Linked DNA regions of Homo sapiens: regions 1, 3, 4 and 5 are each linked to region 2. Evidence: promoter capture Hi-C in 16 types of primary human blood cells and fetal thymus (Javierre and others, 2016). All regions are on one chromosome and are shown on one strand. Each heading gives the region's core, a stretch centred on a gene start or on the middle of the fragment in contact. The rest is flanking DNA. Distances are from core to core; before and after follow the strand shown.

Region 1 (2,700 bases), core at 117-2,616, 230 kb before region 2:
ACGAGGTCAGAAGATCGAGACCATCCTGGCTAACACAGTGAAACCCCGTCTCCACTAAAAATACAAAAAATTAGGCAGGCGCCTGTAGTCCTAGCTACTCGGAAGGCTGAGGCAGGAGAATAGCATGAACCCGGGAGGTGGAGCTTGCAGTGAGCTGAGATCACGCAACTGAACTCCAGCCTGGGTGACAGAGCGTGATTCCGTCTCAAAAAAAAAAAAAAAGAAAAAGAAAAAAAAGAAATGAGGTCTCACTATGTTGCCCAGGCTGATCTACCCACCTCGGCCTCCCAAAGTGCTGGGATTACAGGCGTGAACCACTGTGTCCGGCCATTTTTCTTCTTCTTCTTCTTTTTTTTTTTTTTGAGACGGACTCTTGCTCTGTCGCCAGGCTGGAGTGCAGTGGCGCGATCTTGGCTCACTGCAACCTCCGCCTCTTGGGTTCAAGCAATTCTCCTGCCTCAACCTCTGGAGTAGCTGGGATTACAGGCACTTGCCACCATGCCCAGCTAATTTTTGTATTTTTAGTAGAGATGGGGTTTCATCGTGTTGGCCATGATGGTCTCGATCTCCTGACCTCGTGATCTGCCCACCTCGGCCTCCCAAAATACTGAGATTACAGGCATGAGCCACCACGCCCAGCCATTTTTCTATTTTTTGTAGAGACAGGGGTCTCCCTATGTTGCTCAGGCTGGTCTTGAACTCCTGGGCTCAAGCAATCCTCCTGCCTCAGCCCCCAAAGTGCTTGCTGGGATTTCAGGCATGAGCCACCACACCCAGATATTTAGGCTTCTTTATTTTTTATTTATTTTTATTTTTTGAGACTGAGTTTTGCTCTTATTGCCCAGGCTGGAGTGCAGTGGTGCGATATCGGCTCAACTGGGTTCAAGTGATTCTCCTGCCTCAGCCACCTGAGTAGCTGGGATTACAGGTGCACGCCACCACACCCAGCTAATTTTTGTACTTTTAGTAGAGATGGGGTTTTGGCATATTGGCCAGGCTGGTCTCGAATTTCTGGCTTCAGGCCATCTGCCCATCTCAGCCTCCCAAAGTGTTGGGATTACAGGTGTGAGCCACCATGCTGGCCTAGGCTTCTTTAATCTGGGGCAATTCCTCATCTTTTTCATCTTTCATGACATTTTTTCAGAGTAGGACTCCCCCACACATTTTTCCTTTTAATCGAATGCACCTTATTTGAGGTTTGTCTGGTATTTCCTTATGGATAGATTCAGGCTATGTCTCCCTGGTGCAAATATAAGCAATATTATATTGTTTGGGTGGAGTTCTCTCCACTTTAAGGGATTCATGGAACTTCTGAACCTCTGAGGTTGATTAACCCCTGAGTTGTCTGTCAAAAAAATCAGATTTTCAAAACAAGTTAAGAAGGACATCATGAATTATGCGTGTGTCTTCACTCTGCTGATGGCTGGCTTAGGCTCTGCATTCTCTCTCTCCCTCTTCCCCTCCCGCTACCGAACTTGCCCTTGAAATTTCAGCAGCTGCTGTTGAAAGCATTCTTTTTGAAGGCCACTAGGGACCCCTAATTGCCCAACTCAGTCGCTTTCATAGTCTTCATCCTCTTGACCTCTTCTCAGGGCAACGGACTGGCTCACCCGCCCTTCTCCCTAAAACCACAGAAGGCCGCGCTTGGCTGTCCCAGTCTCTGCCCATTTCCTTCAACAAAAATGACAGAATGCCGGCTGCTCTGGGAGGTACAGAGGTGGATCCACTGTGGAGCCAGCTTTGCAGGTGGTGGCTTGTCAGGAAAATTCTGCAGGTCCTGGTCTTTTTTTCTTTTCTTTTCTTTCTTTTTTTTTTTTTTTTTTGAGACTGAGTCTCACTCTATTGCCCAGGCTGGAGTGCAGTGGCATGATCTCGGCTCACCGTGACCTCCGCCTCCCGGATTCAAGTGATCCTCTTGCCTGAGCCTCCCAGGTAGCTGGGATTACAGGCGCCCACCACCACGCCCAGCTTATTATTGTATTTTTAGTAGAGACAGAGTTTCACCATGTTGGCCAGGCTGGTCTCCAGAACTCCTGACCTCAGCTGATCTAGCCGCCTTGGCCTCCCAAAGTGCTGGGATTACAGGCATGAGCCACCACACCCGGCCTGGTCCTGGTATTTCTTGTATACTCCCCACACCCCAGTGAAGATGTTCTCTCAGCTTTTGTCCTCAGATGGGGTGCCTGGAATTGGTCTTTCCCCTGGAGGAGCCCCACCTTCTAGTGGTTTCAACTTTGCCTCTCCTTCAACAACCCAGGAGGGCAGCCCTGAGTCTCTGACCCTGACTCAGTGGATGTCCAGGCAGAATTATGTCAGGAATGGATCTGGGCTTAGTGTTTCTTCCTCAGCAGCCCCTAGGGCAAACAGACCTCCCCTCATACTCCTTTCCCAGGCCGTGAGCTCTTTTTAGGCAGGTTGGGGTCTAATTCTTCTCTATCCCTCGGCACTGGGCATGCAGTTGGCCCTCCATCAATATTTATGGAATAATGGCCAGGCGCAGTGGCTCATGCCTATAATCCCAGCACTTTGGGAGGCTGAGGCGGGAGGATTACTTGAGGTCAGGAGTTCAAGACCAGCCTGGTCAACATGGCAAAACCCAGTCTCTACTAAAAATACAAAAATTAGCTCGGTGTGGTGGCGCATGCCTGTAATTCCAGCTACTTGGGAGACTGAGGTAGGAGAATCATTTGAACCTGGGAG
Region 2 (2,773 bases), core at 134-2,633:
AGGGTGTAAACTGAGTCACTAAGCACGCTGGGCCCCGGAGGCGGGGTCATCGAGCTGCCCGGTGCTGAACCAACAAACCCCAAGCAGGACACTCCCCCGGCGCCCCCTCCCCTTGGACCCCGCAGCGCACTCACGTCGGCTGGGCGGGCCTCAGGGAGCCCATGGGCTGGGTGGGCGGAGCCGGCGGTGGCTGCAGGTTAGGCCCCTACCATCGCCCTGGGCGGGGTTTCCAGGGGCGAGGCCGGAGAGGCTGCGCGGAACAGGAGCTGGCAAGCAGAGCGAAGAGGGACAGGGACGCTCAGGAGTGCTGTCACCGATACCCAAAGCAGCCGTGTCTGGGTGGGGCGAGGAGGAGCCTGAATGCCTCTGCTGGGGACCTTGGGGGGCATTGGGACGAGGCCCAGAGCAGAAGGCCGGCACCTGGAGCCGGGACTGCTGCGTCTGAAGGGGCACTGGCAGGTCGCGAGCGGAGCCCAAGGAGGATGGGACCGCCCCCGCTCCGCCTTCCCCCTCTATTCCCCGCCCCCCCACCCCCCACCCCCCGGGATTTGCTGTCCGGGAGTGCCTGCGTCCCTCCTGTGCGCGGCTCTGGGAATGCCGGGCTGGGGCTGGTTGTCTCGTGCGGGCGTTCCTGTTCCCGGGGAGGTCATTTGCACCCTGAATCACCCACTGCGAGCCCTTCCAACCGGATTGCAAATCCGCCCGCTCCGGGCCCACCTCTTCCCTCACCAGGGCCTTTCCCGGAGCAGCCCGGCCGGGCCTGGAAAAACTCCGAGCGGGATTCCCAGCGCAGGGACGCCCACCGGAGCTCGATGTCTCGGGCTGGATAAGAAGGGGACCGGACCTCGGTTCCTTCCCCGACCCTGGGGAAACGCAGAGAAGGGGAGGGATTGGGGAAGCCGGGAGGATCCCTGGAGCGCGACAGCGCACCAGTCGCCAGGAGGTCCCCTGCGTCCACTGCCCAGGCGACTCAAGCTACAGGGGCGTCAACGCCTGGGTCGGCGCTGGGGGCCTGGGCCTGCTTCCCTCCAGCCCCCAGATGGAGGGCAGCCCTTCGCCTACCTTCTCCTCCCCGTGGGATGCGGCCCGCGCAGCTCCCGCCCCAGCGCGGAGACAAGGGGAGCAGGCGCGCGGAGCTCCCGGGTGCGGACCCGCCACCTGCCGCACCCTTCCCTTCCCAACCCTGCCCTTTCCCCACCCCCACCCCACTTCCCACCCCCAACCCCCGCTCGGCGCCCCACTCCCGACCCTGCCTGCCCGGGCACCTCGGGGCGTCCGCTCGCCGGCTTCGCCTCCACTTGCCCCGGCAGGCGCGCGTGGGCTCGGCGTCCCGCGCTCCCTCCTCGACTGTGCGGCTCCCGCGCTGCCGGGTTTCCTGTTCAACAATATAACCAGGGAGGCACCGGCGGAGAGCGCCGGGCAGAACTTCCTCCCGGACTGGGGCTGGGCTGCGGTTGCGAGAGACAATCCCCGGTGTCCTGGCTTCCTGTCCCCTCTGGGCCGGGCCAGCGCCTGAGGAGCGAAGACGCCACCCCCTCCCCTGCCTTTCCCGGGATCCTGGGCCGCACCTGGCTGTCTCCAGGGAGAAAGAGGCTGCGGGGCTGAGATGGTGGGACTGGGGAGGGCGGGAGCCTCCCCCGCAGGTTCGCCTGGCCAGATTGCCCTCCCACCATCCCCCACCCCCTCTTGATCCTTGTGGGGAAGGAGGGCCACCCTCCAATCCGTCCACAGGGTAAGCTCAGAACAACCTCCAGGAGTCCAGCCCCAGGGCCCTCCGCCTTGGGGGTCTTCTGTTGGAGAATTTTCTGCCTCTCTGGACAAGCAGCCTCGCCCTGATCTGAGCCTGCACTCACTCCAGACATTACAAGCCACAGCCCCAGCACACCCCCTGCCCTCAGGGGCCCCAAGGAACAGTTGTGCCTGTGGACCTGGCTGTGTGTGCCAAGAGCTGGCTGATTCAGGCCAGTGTTCTGGGAGGAAGAAGGGCCCGCATCCCAGGCCATGGCCTCTCTTGACACCACCTCCTGGGGACCCAGGGTTGGGTGGGAAGCTGAATCTGGCCACCCAGATTCAGAGGAACTCCCTTACCTCTATATCTTTGTAAGATATAGTAAGTAAGGAACTCCCTTACCTCTATATCTTTGTAAGATATAGTAAGTAAGGAACTCCCTTACCTCTATATCTTTGCCTCTGCTAGGCATTGCCCACCTGTGAGTCCACACTTCCTCTGAGAATCTGTGTGTCTGAGCCTTGGTGGCACCTTGGGACCCTCCAGGGTGGGCACACAGCAGAACTCAGCACTGGTCTTTGGTGCCCGACATGCTTAGAAAATAGTGGCTGGTGCCGGGCACGGTGGCTCACGCCTATAATCCCAGCACTTTGGGAGGCCGAGGCGGGCGGATCATGAGGTCAGGAGATTGAGAAACCCTGGCTAACACGGTGAAACCCCGGCTAACACGGTGAAACCCCGTCTCTACTAAAAATATAAAACATTAGCCGGGCGTGGTGGCGGGAGCCTGTAGTCCCAGCTACTCCGGAGGCTGAGGCAGGAGAATGGTGTGAACCTGGGAGGCGGAGACTGCCGTGAGCCATGATCGTGCCACTGCACTTCAGCCTGGGCGACAGAGCAAGACTCCGTCTCAAAAAACAACAACCAAAAAAGAAAAAAAGAAAATCGTGGCTGGAGGAATCTTCTCTCCCTCCCTACCTTTTAGGTCCCTCTCCACCTGCAGCACAGCCAGGCAGTGGCTGGCAGTGGTGATGGTCTTTGCGT
Region 3 (2,700 bases), core at 135-2,634, 130 kb before region 2:
AGCTAGCCTCTCCTGCCTTTCTTATATGTGATCTTTAACCTTGCTTAAAAATTTTTTTTCAGGCCAGGTGCAGTGGCTCATGACTGTAATCCCATCACCTTGGGAGGCCGAGGTGGGTGGATCACTTGAGGTCAGGAGTTCAAGACCAGCCTGGCCAACATGGGGAAATCTCGTCTCTACTAAAAATACAAAAATTAGCTGGGTGTGGTGGTGGGCACCTGTAATCCCAGCTACTTTGGAGGCTAACGCAGGAGAATCACTTGAGCCCAGGAGGTAGAGGTTGTAATGAGCCGAGATTGCACCACTGCACCCCAGCTTGGGCAACAGAGTGAGACTCCATCTCAAAAATTTTTTTCCAATACCAAAATAATTGTTCATTGTAAAAATGTAAACAAAACAAAATTGTATATAGAAAAAAAATCCCGGCACCGTCCCGTCCTCTCTGCAACATAAAAAACACTTAAGTTTCATGTAAATCCTTCTAGTTCCAATTACTATACATATATAAACATATAGTTTGGGACTTTTTTTTTTTTTTGTATTTTTAGTAGAGACGGGGTTTCACCGTGTTAGCTAGGATGGTCTTGATCTCCTGACCTCGTGATCCAGCCGCCTCGGCCTCCCAAAGTGCTGGGATTACAGGCGTGAGCCACCGTGCCTGGCCTAGTTTGGGACTATTTTTAAAAGAAACATGGATTATACACATGTAATGTCATACAAATTGTATCTTTCACTTAAGATACTATGAATACTATTCCATCTCAGCACATTTAGATTTATTTCTTTTCTTTTCTTTTTTTTTTTTTTTTTTTTGAGACGGAGTCTCGCTCTGTCGCCCAGGCTGGAGCGCAGCAGCCCATTCTTGGCTCACTGCAACCTCCGTCTCCCGAGTTCAAGTGATCCTCCTGCCTCAACCTTCCGAGTTACAGGCGTCAGCCACCACATCCGGCTAATTTTTGTATTTTTAGTAGAGACGGGGTTTCACCATGTTGGTCAGGCTGGTCTTGAACTCCTGACCTCAAACAATCCACCCGCCTTGGCCTCCCAAAGTACTGGGATTACAGGTGTGAGCCACCATGGTTGACCTCTAATTCATTCTTTTTAAGGCTTCATAAGATTGGAAGGTACAGATGTATCATCATTTTCCCACCTGGAAACTTTGTTTCCAATTTTTCACTTATACGTAATAATGGAAAAAACTCTACCCTTATTCACATTTATGTGTACATGTAGAAGGAATTCTAGGTGGTAAGCTCTTGGGATTGGAATTTCTGGGTGACTCTTTTGTTAATGGGTTATATCTTTTCTCCTGTTTCTATGTGTCAGAGAAGTAGATAGCATCAGATAGGTGGTTTCCAAACATTGTATTATTTATTTGCTGTGAAGATGCTATCCTTGCTTTCAACATGCCTATAGTCTAGATGGGGAAAAAATGGGTAGATGGATAAATAAATCATAAAGGAATAATCAAAGTGCTCTTAGGATCAGAAAGACCCTCAGAGGTAATTTCTTCCAACATATTACTTACTAATCCTGAGGAATGGCCATTCAGCTACATGACAGGATGGCCTTGGAGTCAGAAGATCTGAGTTTGAATCTTAGTTTCTCAATACTCTGGTGTGTGACCATGGGCAGGTCACATAATCTGAGACTCAGGAGTCTTATCTGTAATATAGGGATCCTCAAACCTACATGATAGAATTTTACACGGTGACTCAATGCAAGGAACAAAGTTTAAATTACATAGCACAGTGCCTGGCATGCAGTGGGCACTCTGGAAACATCAGTGGAACCTCCAGTGAGATGGAAGCCGCTACAAGATGAGCAGTCAGACCTTTGTATGACTGGAAGTGTAAGATTTTTTTTGGTTTTATGTTTTTTTATTTTTTTTATTTTTTGAGACGGAGTCTTGCTCTGTCGCCCAGGCTGGAGTGCAGTGACGCAATCTCGGCTCACTGCAAGCTCTGCCTGCCGGGTTTACACCATTCTCCAGCCTCAGCCTCCTGAGTAGCGGGACTACAGGCACCCGCCACCACGCTCAGCTAATTTTTTGTATTTTTAGTAGAGACAGGATTTCACCATGTTAGCCAGGATGGTCTCGATCTCCTGACCTCGTGATCCACCTGCCTCGGCCTCCCAAAGTGCTGGGATTACAGGCGTGAGCCACAGCGCCCGGCCGTTTTTTTTTTTTTTTTTGTGAGACAGAGTCTTGCTGTCACCCAGGCTGGAGTGCAGTGGTGTGATCTTGGCTCACTGCAACCTCCACCTCCCGAATTCAAGCGATTCTTATGCCTCAGCCACCCAAGTGGCTGGGATTACAGGCATGTACCACCACGCATGGCTAATTTCATTTATTTATTTTTTTGTAGAAATGGGATTGTGCCATCTTGGCCAGGCTGATCTCAAACTCCTGGCCTCAAGTGATCTGCCCACCTCAGCCTCCCAAAGTGCTAGGATTACAGATGTGAGTCATGGTCTATAAGTGTTAAGTTGCTTCAAAGTTGCTGCTATAAGGCACTGAAGCCTACCTCCCACAGCTTCTAGCCAGCAGCCCTAGCATCAGACAGAAAGTCTGGAACAGATGTGGTCAAAGCAGGAGGAGGACAATCCTGAAAGCAGAGGGACAGAGTGGTCGGCAAGAACCCATGAAGATGTTCTTTGAAGAGCATTCTGCACACCCCATCTGGCTTCTGTGTCCAC
Region 4 (2,500 bases), core at 1-2,500, 190 kb before region 2:
GGCGTACCTGGACAATATTTTTGATGTGGGGGCGCTGCTGGAGGACACAGAGACCAAGAACGCTGTGCTGGAGCACATGGAGGAACTGCAGGAGCAAGTGGCGCTGGTGAGAGTGGGTCCTGACCCCAGCCCAGCACATCATAGGCCCACAGGGCACACGGGCCACAGGGCCACGCAAGCATGGGCACTGGGCAGCAGACAGTGTTATAATTGTGCATTGGAGGTGCTGCCTGCCTGGCCCCAGAGCCTGGCCTGAATCCAAAGCCTGAATCTGTTGGGTGTCTTTCTCAATGAGTGTGGGTGAGCACCCTCACTGACAGGCCCCTCCTCTACCCAGGCTCAGACCCCAGGTGAACTGAAATGGGTGCCTGGGGCCCCTCCCAGCTCAGTCTCCTCCTCTCCCTCCACCTCCCGCATCACTGGTACCTTGGTTTCCTCTCCTTATTTGCTTGGGTTCGAGTGCCAGGCTCGGCCCACCCTTGGCACCTGGGCTGAGCGGATCTGGGAGCCTCCCCCAGTCTTCCAGGCAGGCATGCCTGATGCCGCCCCCTCACCGGCGGTGCCAGTGCCGGGCTGCGGGTCGGGGCTCACCATGTGCTGGTGCTACAGCTGACAGAGCGGCTTCGGGACGCGGAGAACGAATCCATGGCCAAGATTGCAGAACTGGAAAAACAGCTAAGCCAGGCGCGCAAGGAGTTGGAGACCCTGCGGGTGAGGCTGGGGCGGGTGGTAGGCCAGGCGCCCAAGAACAGGCCAGCTGAGGCTTCTAGGCTTGACATCTCCCTCCACCCCGGGAAGAAGATGGAGGCTTGGTGCCAAGGAGCCTGCTGGTGGGCACTGACCCCTCCCGTGGGGTTCGTAGGAGCGCTTCAGCGAATCGACCGCCATGGGGCCCTCCAGGCGTCCCCCAGAGCCTGAGAAAGCGCCTCCCGCTGCCCCGACGCGGCCCTCGGCCCTGGAGCTGAAGGTGGAGGAGCTGGAGGAGAAGGGGTTAATCCGTATTCTGCGGGGGCCGGGGGATGCTGTCTCCATCGAGATCCTCCCCGTCGCTGTGGCAACTCCGAGCGGCGGTGATGCTCCGACTCCGGGGGTGCCGACCGGCTCCCCCAGCCCAGGTGCGCAGGAGCTTCAGGCTGGCGGGGATGCGGGGCAGGGTCTGGAGGGGAGCCCAGGGGCATCTGTGGCGGGCAGAGTTGGGCGAGGGAGGTTTGGATTGTAGGCTCGGCTCAGGTAGGAGCGCATGCGTAGAGCGGAGAGGCGGAGAGGGGCCCACCCAAGTCAAGGAGCTGACTCGCGCCTCCCCCACGCCGCGCCCTCGCTGGCTCAGATCTCGCACCTGCAGCAGAGCCGGCTCCCGGAGCAGCGCCACCGCCGCCGCCCCCACTGCCCGGCCTCCCCTCCCCGCAGGAAGCCCCGCCCTCTGCGCCCCCACAGGCCCCGCCTCTCCCTGGCAGCCCGGAGCCCCCGCCTGCGCCGCCGCTGCCCGGAGACCTGCCGCCCCCACCCCCGCCACCGCCACCACCTCCGGGCACTGACGGGCCGGTGCCTCCGCCGCCGCCGCCGCCGCCGCCGCCTCCCGGAGGTCCTCCTGATGCCCTAGGAAGACGCGACTCAGAATTGGGCCCAGGTGAGTGGAGTGGACCACCTTGGGCCCGGGGCTGGGGGGAGATGGAGGGAGGGGCCTGGGCCTCAGTGTCCTCCAGGGTCCTCTGCCTGGGGGCCTCCTGCTGCCTCCTGGCTGCCCCATCAGCCCTCCCTGGGCCCAGGTTCCCTCCAGTAGTACCCCCAGTGCTCACCACTGCCCCCAAACCCCCGTCCCAGGAGTGAAGGCCAAGAAGCCCATCCAGACTAAGTTCCGAATGCCACTCTTGAACTGGGTGGCACTGAAACCCAGCCAGATCACCGGCACTGTCTTCACAGAGCTCAATGATGAGAAGGTGCTGCAGGTGAGTGGCCCTGCCTGGCTCCCCATGTGGGCACCGGAGGAAGAGGGGAGTTGCCTGGATCAGGCTGGGCCCTGGGGGTAGTCATTTTCTCCAAGCCATTTCACAGATGAGGAGGGGGAGGCCCAGGGATGGGCATTAAGCCAGACTGGACCAATACCTCTAACAGGCAGAATCCTGCTTTCCCAAACGCCTTCCCCTCCATCCCTGCAGAGGGGTGCCTCCCCTCACCCCACTTCTTCTGCCTCCAGGCCTCTTTCCTTCCACTTTCCCACAGGCAGCCAAGGCTTCAGCCCTCCTGATTCCACTTCCAGTTTTCCAAAAGGATGTATTCTCTTGCCTCTAGGCCATTGTTCCATTCTGTTTCCTCTGCCTGGAATGTCTTTTCCTTTCTCCTTTTTACCGCTGGCCAGTTCAGCTCTTCCTTTAGCTCTTGTGGCCCCAAGTCTGGATCCCCCGGGTTAGGCGGCCCTCCTCCTCCAGGCTCCCTGTGCTTCCCCTGTGCCTCCCATCAGGGCCTGTGGTCAGGCTGGGTTACTGGTTCTCTGCTGGTGGCC
Region 5 (2,700 bases), core at 30-2,529, 210 kb before region 2:
CAAATTAAATGGGGAATGAGAGGAGCAACTGAAAGTCTCAAATTCAGGCTATAGATGGGACCCCAGCCCCCCATACTCTCCCGTCCTACATGAGATGGGCAGTGGAGGGCCAGGACAGCAACTCCAAGCCAGTGTAGGTTTTGGAGGTAGACAGTGAGGAGGCTTGCTTCTGTCCTTTGTTAGCTGAGTGCCCTTGGACAGCTTACTTACCTACTCTCAGCCTCAGTTTCCCCATCTCTAAAATAAGGCTACCAATACCTACCTTCTCTGGCCATTGTCAGGATGAATGAAAGAGCTCTGAAAGTATTTCTGTAATTAGCAGACATCAGAGATTGTTATTCTCCAAGGTAAGAGGCCCCCCTAGATCCCTGGCGGTGACAGTGTCAAGATTCTTTTTCCCTCCTCTGCGGTGCCCACTCCTTTTCCAGCCTTGTGGCTGGCTCTCATCCTCCTTTCCGCAACCCCCCACTCCTCCTTGGGACCACCTTGGCGGGCCCAGCTTCTCGCAGCCTGCCATATTCCATAGGTGCCCCCATTCTAAAACCTGTAGGGGTGCCCTGCACAGGCGCACGGTTGGTCGAGGTGGGACAGGTGGCGGGGGTCTCCACTGGCCTGCGTCCGCGCCCCCCACCCTGTTTAGGAGTTCCTGTTTGGAGATGGCTCCCCCTCGTCCTCAGCTCGTCTCTGGGCTAAGCAGGGGAGGAGAGAAATAAAAGGTGGGGGGCCTGGAAGGGGGTTCCCACCTTCTCAGTCCGGGACGCGAGACGGGAACGCAGCCCTGGCGCCCCAACGCTGCACCACCGTGGGTCTCCGAGCCGTGCTCGCAGTCGCTGAGATCCTCGGTGCGGAGAAGATGTGCCCCTCCAATCCCCAGGCCGTGATCCCCTTCACCCAGACCCGGCCAATCCCTCGCCCGAGGCGAGCGGGAGGATGCGGTTCTAGGACCCGGAGGCGCCGCCGAGCGCGCCGCCGCCTCGGCCTCGCCTCGGTGGCCTCCCGCTCCGGCAGGTGAAGCGGCGCCGGCCGCCCCCTCTGCGGCAGGTGAAGCGGCTCGGCAGCCCACTCCCCGCCCGCCATGGTTGCGGGGGTCCCCCGGCCAGCGCCCGCCCCCTCCCTCCAGCCCGCCCCCCTGGGGCTGGGTGCCCGGCGGCGGCGGCGGCGAACTGCGGTTTGCGCGCACGGGGAGCGACAGCAGAAGTTCGAAAATCGCCGAGGGGGGAGCCAGCGCCGCAGCTTCCTGCCCCCGGCCCAGCCCTCTGGCCCCGGCGGCCTGCAGCCTGACTTCCTCCCCCAACCCTGCAGCTCGCCGCCCGGTCCCACGGACGGGGCCGCCCCGATGGGACGCCGCGCTCCGGCCCCTGCGCGCCGCTGAGCCGAGCGCCCCCCGCTGCCGAGACCCCCGCCGCCACCGCCAGCCGCTGCCCCCTCGCCCCCGCCCGGGCCGGGAGCCTCGTCCCCGTCCCCCGGAAAGCTGGATTTCCGAGGCTGGAGGCGCCTGGCCGGCTGGGTGGGGACCACCATGGGCAACGCGGCCGGCAGCGCCGAGCAGCCCGCGGGCCCCGCCGCGCCGCCCCCCAAGCAGCCCGCGCCTCCCAAGCAGCCGATGCCCGCGGCCGGAGAGCTGGAGGAGAGGTTCAACCGCGCCCTGGTGAGTGCGACCCGGAGGCGGGTCGGGCGCGGGCGGGGGGCGGCAGGGGCGCGGCAGGGGCTGGGCGCGCGTCCCCGCCCCCGGGGACTCAGGTGCCGCTTGGAGATCCCCGGTCCGGCAGCTGCCCCCTCCAGGAGGTGGGAGCGACAGTGGCCTTTTTTTCAGAGTGACTTAGCACTCTCCCCCCAAAACTTTCTTCAGTTATCGCCCGGTCTCCCTCCCTAAGACGCCTCCACCCCAGCTGGGTCTTAAGGTCTAAACAAGTATGTCCTGTGAAGAAGTTGGGAGCGGGGCACGCACAGGGGTCCCGGGTCGCCCCCTTCCCCACTGCACGCAGGCCCAGCCACCGGGCGCGGGTCTGGGGCATCTGCCTTTCTGTGTCTGGAGTCAAAGATGAAAGGGTTACAACCTCCCGGGAGCGGGAGACCTGCTGGAGGTGTTGGGTCCTGATTTGTTGGGCGCCTGGGCTGCGGGGAATGGGGTTGTCGGATCATGGCCAGGAGGTATCTGTGTTTCTACCCCGCCATATGTCAGAGCCAGGGTGCCTGTGGGTCTTTATCTTGGGGCATCCTTTCCAAGCCACTGAAGGGAGTAAGATGAGGGAGGGTGGGGTCAGGACGGGTGGGTCGCCCAGGCTAGGGGTGGAGCAAAATCTGGAACCACCCCCCTCTGTGCCTACCTGGGGAATTGGAGCGGGGTCGCTGGGGAATAGGTCTCTGGGAGGGAACCAGCAGCTCAGGCCGAGCCTGGAAACAGTCAACATGTTCAGTGGGGTGGGGGCTCCAGAGCAGACTCAGGGGTCTCCAAGACCCTGCATAAGGCAGAAGTAGGGAGAGGAAGAGCTGCTCACTCTCACTCTCCCCACCCCCGACGCCCTGGCCCTGGCTCCCTCCTCTAACTAATTGCCTGGTGGCCTGCCTGCTGTCAGCCTTCCCTTGCTGGACGCTGGGTGACAGGCAAAATGAGGCTGTGCCTTCTCCCAGATGCATTTCCCAGTCCCTGCAGGTCTGAGGGTGGGGGCTCAACGGAGACACAGGCCGCAGAGGGTTCTG

What was found. The method cuts DNA at HindIII sites, captures the fragments that hold promoters and counts their contacts. A CHiCAGO score of 5 or more calls a contact.
Region 1: a fragment that was not itself captured here is called in contact with the fragment with the promoter of ARHGAP27 in region 2 in 1 of 17 cell types (neutrophils); the score reaches 5.8 in neutrophils.
Region 3: a contact is called between a fragment that was not itself captured here and the fragment with the promoter of ARHGAP27 in region 2, in 1 of 17 cell types (neutrophils). The highest score is 5.1, in neutrophils.
Region 4: the fragment with the promoter of FMNL1-AS1 here is called in contact with the fragment with the promoter of ARHGAP27 in region 2 in 3 of 17 cell types (neutrophils, monocytes and activated CD4 T cells); the score reaches 13.5 in neutrophils.
Region 5: the fragment with the promoter of FMNL1 here is called in contact with the fragment with the promoter of ARHGAP27 in region 2 in 11 of 17 cell types (monocytes, endothelial precursors, neutrophils and 8 more); the score reaches 21.0 in monocytes.

What each region holds. Positions count from the first base shown.
Region 1 is chr17:45,199,312-45,202,011 of GRCh38, forward strand. The region is part of intron 2 of FMNL1-DT (FMNL1 divergent transcript); the gene reads right to left. Among named protein-coding and RNA genes, the nearest start is that of FMNL1-DT, 21 kb to the right of the region's middle. The HindIII fragment of the contact is 4,769 bases long and covers 1-2,700 here.
Region 2 is chr17:45,431,487-45,434,259 of GRCh38, forward strand. ARHGAP27 (Rho GTPase activating protein 27) reads right to left here and starts at 1,384. Exons shown (of 20, transcript NM_001282290.2): 1 at 1,266-1,384; 2 at 730-863; 3 at 135-266. It also overlaps a transcript of PLEKHM1 not described here. The HindIII fragment of the contact is 25,899 bases long and covers 1-2,773 here.
Region 3 is chr17:45,303,218-45,305,917 of GRCh38, forward strand. All of the region lies in intron 1 of MAP3K14 (mitogen-activated protein kinase kinase kinase 14), which reads right to left. Among named protein-coding and RNA genes, the nearest start is that of MAP3K14, 12 kb to the right of the region's middle. The HindIII fragment of the contact is 3,452 bases long and covers 1-2,700 here.
Region 4 is chr17:45,240,520-45,243,019 of GRCh38, forward strand. FMNL1-AS1 (FMNL1 antisense RNA 1) reads right to left here and starts at 1,251. Exons shown (of 3, transcript NR_186808.1): 1 at 592-1,251; 2 at 1-85. FMNL1 (formin like 1) reads left to right here. Exons shown (of 27, transcript NM_005892.4): 12 at 1-106; 13 at 610-711; 14 at 863-1,115; 15 at 1,328-1,627; 16 at 1,822-1,946. RefSeq lists an enhancer at 643-1,361. The HindIII fragment of the contact is 17,531 bases long and covers 1-2,500 here.
Region 5 is chr17:45,220,606-45,223,305 of GRCh38, forward strand. FMNL1 (formin like 1) reads left to right here and starts at 1,280. Exons shown (of 27, transcript NM_005892.4): 1 at 1,280-1,648. The coding sequence starts at 1,520. It overlaps FMNL1-DT (FMNL1 divergent transcript), which reads right to left and starts at 1,160. Exons shown (of 3, transcript NR_147507.1): 1 at 744-1,160. RefSeq lists silencers at 855-1,304, 1,315-1,364, 1,645-1,754, 1,677-1,971 and enhancers at 1,818-2,318, 2,319-2,700. The HindIII fragment of the contact is 10,145 bases long and covers 1-2,700 here.